2 separate regions of the Homo sapiens genome follow, and region 1 is linked to region 2. The links are contacts of gene promoters, found by promoter capture Hi-C in blood cells and fetal thymus (Javierre and others, 2016). All regions are on one chromosome and are shown on one strand. Each heading gives the region's core, a stretch centred on a gene start or on the middle of the fragment in contact. The rest is flanking DNA. Distances are from core to core; before and after follow the strand shown. Region 1 holds the start of NXPE3 (neurexophilin and PC-esterase domain family member 3). Region 2 overlaps NIT2 (nitrilase family member 2).

Region 1 (2,703 bases), core at 190-2,689, 1.4 Mb after region 2:
TTCGATAGCAGAAGGAAGCTACCCTTTTATGTCCTCAAAAGGTCCCAGAGTGCTGTATTTCCTCGAGGAAGAAGGAGTATCAGATCATTACTACAATGGTTGAACTAGTTTACAGTCCCACCAACAGTGTAAACGTGTTCCTACTTCTCCACATCCTCTCCACCACCTGTTGTTTCCTGACTTTTTAATGATCGCCATTCTAACTGGTGTGAGATGGTATCTCATTGTGGTTTTGATTTGCATTTCTCTGATGGCCAGTGCTGATGAGCATTTTTTCATGTGTTTGTTGGCTGCATAAATGAACACTTGGACACAGGAAGGGGAACATCACACACCTGGGCATGTTGTGGGGTAGGGGGAGGGGGGAGGGATAGCATTAGGAGATATACTTAATGTAAATGACGAGTTAATGGGTGCAGCATACCAACATGGCACATGTATACATATGTAACAAACCTGCACGTTGTGCACATGTACCCTAGAACTTAAAGTATATTAAAAAAAAAAAAAAGAAGATCATTACTACAGAAGAGATCTTCCACCCTGTGGCAGAACTTCCTTTTATCCCATTCACGGATCTGGTTGCCCACGAAGCAGGCCTGCCATGAAAACATCTGAATGAGCATGCAGAGTCCATTATGGTCAAGAAATGGAAAAATACTTAGTTGTCATGTACATTAATTATTTTTCTTAAACCTTGGGGTAATAGTCCGGGGGCAGGCCTGCTTTTGGGGCCTGTGTTAACCCCACTGTGCTCCAAGCACAGAGAAACACGGTGCAGCCCACAATTCCTTCTGGTTTCTTGAACAAGTGTCTTCTCAGGACTCCTCTCAGTTCCTGAATTTCACAAAACTGCTACCGACGTTTTACCAGTTAGAAAAATGTCCAAAATAGGATAACCCAGAATTGGGGATGGTGGAGGGTGAGGAAAGTATGCTTTGCCAAGAGACCGACATCATGTACAGTGAGAGTAAAAGGAACGGGCTGTTTTACTGGCGAGTAGAAGTTGTTGACTAATGTCAAAGCAAGGAAAAGATTCAAGGATCCGCTATATCCGTGCTTATACTTGGCAAATCGCATTTCTCTGGTTCAGGGCACAATAAATTCCATCACTCCACAGGAAAGACTGCCCTACTAGAGTCAACTGCGGTTGTGGGCACTTTCGCTGACAAGCGAAAAGCCTTGAGGTAGGTGGATGCTCCCAGGAAACTCAGACGTCCGAAGTTCACGAGGAGTTGGGTCGTGAGAGGGGCCAGACCTCGATCCGCGGGGCGACAGCTGCAGTGTCGCGTCGCGAGCAGGAGCTTGGCGGCGTAGAGCGCCAGGGTGCCAACTTCGCTTCCAGGCCTGTGGGTTCCGCCCGGCGCGTGCTGCTGTCAGTCAACGCCCTCGGCCCGCCCCCGCCGAAGCTCCACCAATCGTAGCCGGGGGTCGGAGGTGAGGAGACGTCGCCGGGTGAGGAAGCGGGGGGCTAGCGGCCTGGCGCTGCGGCGACCGACCGGGGCGTCAGGATCCCTGGCCCCCGGAGAGCGAAGGGCGGGCGGGTCCCGGAGGTGAGTGCTGGATGTGGTCTGTGTGCGGACGTCGGGAGGGGCCGCTGCGGGCGGAGCGACCCATTGCCCGGCTCTGCCAGCGCGCTCCTAGACTGCGAAGCCCCTCCCTCCGCGCGCATCTGCTCCCGAGTCCCCAGCCCCGTGCTGATAGGTGCAGCCCCTGGAGTCGTGGCTGTGGGCATAGGTGCCAGGGAGGGGAGGCCCGGGTCGAAGGCATAGGCAGAATTGGAGCCCTGGGTTGCCAAAGCGTCGCAGCTAAGAAGCCGGAGCCCAGGCTAGTACCGGCGGGGCGGGGCGGGGCGGGGCCGGGAGCGAGCATCTCCATCCTCAGTTTCCTCCACTTGCGGCAACGCCACAGCTCGGTACAGTTCGGACCTCCACGCCGCAGCGAAAGACTTCTGTCCTCCAGGCACCTTCACTAACCCGGTGCGGAGCACTTGGCGACGCCTCCCTGCCCATCTCATATCTCTCGGCTCATCGCTGCTCTGGGCACCAGCTGCCTCTTGGCTGGCGCTGCTGTCACACGGTGGACTGTTCTGGCCTTACTGAGCTGCCGTTTGGGGACATCAGATTCAGGTCGTATGGGGAGAAACGAGTGTAACTTTACAAGGTGTGATATGGAGACCCTGGCCTGTTGCCCATTTCTGCCTGATCAAAGGCCACTAGGGTGGTAATAAGAGGGGTTCCGAGGCAGGATTTATGCAGCATTTGTGCAAAATTGTAAATTTTCTTTGCTTTTCATTATTTACATTAAAGGGGGATTGTTGCCACATTTCCTAAAGATAAAGAATCACACTGCTTTGGTGGGCCTCCCCGCTCCTCACTGTGGTTAATTATCATTTGGAACATCAGGATATATTTGAAACTGGCAGGACTCCCAGACCCTGATAATTGTTTGGAGGCAGCAGTATACTATTTCTCCGTAGTGTTTGGGTTCTGCTTTTCTTTGAATTTGTTTAGTATTTTTTTTTCCATGTCTGTTATCCTCACAATCTCTTTGGGGCCAATAGAGTGCTGTTATTTGTTACTGAGAAAGGAAACGAAGGGATAAATCACTGAAGTGGGGTTAGCCTTCCCCATTGCCTGGGAATTGGGTTGTCCTGACCTGACAATTTAAGTTACAATTCAAACATCATTTTGGAAAGGCCAT
Region 2 (2,961 bases), core at 1-2,500:
ATGTGTAGGAGAGGAAGCCATCAGCGTAGCCATGGTGAGCTTTATCTTTCCCACCCTCGGAAGCACAGACATGGCCCGGCACGTGGCTCACGCCTGTAATCCCAACAGTTTGGGAAGCTGAGGCACGAGGATCGCTTGAGTTCACGAGTCAAGAGTTGGAGACCAGCCTGGGCAACATGGCGACACCTTGTCTGTACTAAAAAATACAAAATTAGCCCGGTGTGGTGGCACGCCCCTTTAGTCCCAAACTACTTGGGAAGCTGAGGAGGGAGAATGGCTTAACGCTGGGAAATGGAGGGGAGACGTTTAGTGGATTTATCTGCTGTTCTGATAACAGCTCAAAATATCTGTTTGCCCCAGAATAATCCCAGCTTTTATTTCCTGTTTTAGTTTCCCTTCAGATTCTATAACTATTTAGCAGGCTGCCTTCAGGGTTAAATTTAGTGCTTCTCACTATATTTAGGATAGATCAAGGAATGGGACATCTGAGTTTTCCTTTTAGTTAACCCTGAGCCAAACAGGCCTTCATCAGAGGCCAGGGTTTGTCATTGTTGCCTTTTCTGGAGACATTTGCGTTGTTACAGGAAACACCCAAAAGAGATAGCTCTCTAATGGTAGGATTTTCAGACTCTGGAGCAGAGGTGGGATGGGAAGTTCGGGCAGGCCATTACTAATTGAAGGGGTGGGTTGCCCCTCCACACCTGTGGGTGTTTCTCGTTAGGTGGAACGAGAGACTTGGAAAAGAAAAAGACACAAACAAAGTATAGAGAAAGAAGTAGGGGGGCCCAGGGGACCAGCGTTCGGCATACGGAGGATCCCGTCGGCCTCTGAGTTCCCTTAGTATTTATGATCATTCTTGGGTGTTTCTCGGAGAGGGGGATGTGGCAGGGTCATAGGATAATAGTGGAGAGAAGGTCAGCAGATAAACACGTGAACAAAGGTCTCTGCATCATGAACAAGGTAAAGAATTAAGTGCTGTGCTTTAGATATGCATACACATAAACATCTCAATGTCTTAAAGAGCAGTATTGCTGCCCGCCTGTCCCCCTTCCAGCCCTAAGGCGGTTTTCCCTATCTTAGTAGATGGGACATAGAATCGGGTTTTATACCGAGACATTCCGTTGCCCAGGGACGGGCAGGAGACAGATGCCTGCCTTCCTCTTGTCTCAACTGCAAAGAGGCGTTCCTTCCTCTTGCACTAATCCTCCTCAGCACAGACCCTTTACGGGTGTCGGGCTGGGGGACGGTCAGGTCTTTCCCTTCCCACGAGGCCATATTTCAGACTATCACATGGGGAGAAACCTTGGAGAATACCTGGCTTTCCTAGGCAGAGGTCCCTGCGGCCTTCCGCAGTGTTTGTGTCCCTGGGTACTTGAGATTAGGGAGTGGTGATGACTCTTAAGGAGCATGCTGCCTTCATGCATCTGTAACAAAGCACATCTTGCACAGCCCTTAATCCATTTAACCCTGAGTGGACACAGCACATGTTTCAGAGAGCTCGGGGTTGGGAGTAAGGTTATAGTTTAACAGCATCTCAAGGCAGAAGAATTTTTCGTAGTACAGAACAAAATGGAGTCTCCTATGTCTACTTCTTTCTACACAGACACAGTAATAATCTGATCGCTCTTTCTTTTCCCTACACTAATAATTCCTGAAGTTTTGCAGAGCTTCATAGATTATAATGTGCTTTGGATCCTTTACTGCTGCGTCCCACCAGACCATAAGCAGGAACTATGTATCCATCAGGGTCCAGACAGGACATGGAAACAACACTAGTAACTCGAACAAGGAAAATTATTTATTTATTTATTTATTTTTTTGGAGACTGAGTCTCACTCTGTCGTCCAGGCTGGAGTGCAGTGGCGCGATCTTGGCTCACTGTAACCTCCAACTCCCAGGTTCAACTGATTCTCCTGCCTCAGCCTCCTGAGTAGCTGGGATTACAGGTGCCCACCACCACACCTGGCTAATTTTTGTATTTTTAGTAGAGACGGGGTTTCACCACGTTGGCCAGGCTGGTCTGAAACTCCTGACCTCAGGTGATCACCTGCCTTGGCCTCCCAAAGTGCTGGGATTACAGGCGTGAGCCATCACACCCGGCGGAAAATTTTATATAAAAAATTATTATCTGGCCAGGCGTGGTGGCTCATGCTTATAATCGCAGCAGTTTGAGAGGCTGAGGCAGGAGGATCGCTTGAGCCCAGGAGTTCGAGACCAGCCTGGGCAACAAAGTGAGACCCTGTCTCTACAAAAAATTACATAATTAAAAAATTAGCCCGGCATGGTGGTGCATACCTGTGGTCCCAGCTACATAAGAGGCTGAGACAAGAGGATTGCCTGAACTGAGTAGGTCAAGGCTGCAGTGGACCATGTTTGTGCCACTGCACTCCAGCCTAGGCGACAGAACAAGGCCCTGCCTCAAAATAAAAAATATTAGCTAATGGAAAGTGATTATCATAAAAGCTAAAAGGGAACTTTAAAGAACAGAAGAAAAGCAAATATGATGTATAGCTACTACCTCCAGGAAGAAATAAGCTTGGAAGAGCCCCCAACCTCCTTGCTCCAGGGCTGAGCACAGACCTTGTCAGGGCTGGCTACATAATTTGTGGGGCCCAGTTCCCTTGTTCAGATAGCAAGAGAAAAGTGCTGTTAGCTTTTCCTTCTGCAGTATCTCTTTCAACCTCTCATGGTGTTATTTGCTGTTTAATATCATGTTCTCTTGGACACATGAATACTTATGGGGTAAGTGCAGACTTTTAGAGGTGCCTGGGACCCCTGTCCTGTGAATAGGCATGTGTGCAGCTCACTGGCTGCCAGGTTTTCCCTCTGCCAGCAGCGGGATCGATGTGCTGTGACCCAGCCAGTAGTGGGGAAACTGAGACAGACATCTTCCCTTCCCATGAGCTGGGCTGCTCATGGGAATTATGTGAGCAGCTTCCAAGGAATCACACTTTCTGTGCT

What was found. Contacts are between HindIII fragments. The CHiCAGO score rates a contact against its expected background, and 5 or more counts as called.
Region 1: a contact is called between the fragment with the promoter of NXPE3 here and a fragment that was not itself captured in region 2, in 1 of 17 cell types (non-activated CD4 T cells). The highest score is 6.3, in non-activated CD4 T cells.

What each region holds. Positions count from the first base shown.
Region 1 is chr3:101,777,772-101,780,474 of GRCh38, forward strand. It overlaps NXPE3 (neurexophilin and PC-esterase domain family member 3), which reads left to right and starts at 1,440. Exons shown (of 8, transcript NM_145037.4): 1 at 1,440-1,553. RefSeq lists enhancers at 1,254-1,548, 2,113-2,162 and a silencer at 1,353-1,702. The HindIII fragment of the contact is 3,350 bases long and covers 1-2,703 here.
Region 2 is chr3:100,335,651-100,338,611 of GRCh38, forward strand. All of the region lies in intron 1 of NIT2 (nitrilase family member 2), which reads left to right. Among named protein-coding and RNA genes, the nearest start is that of NIT2, 2.4 kb to the left of the region's middle. RefSeq lists a silencer at 1-129. The HindIII fragment of the contact is 2,566 bases long and covers 1-2,533 here.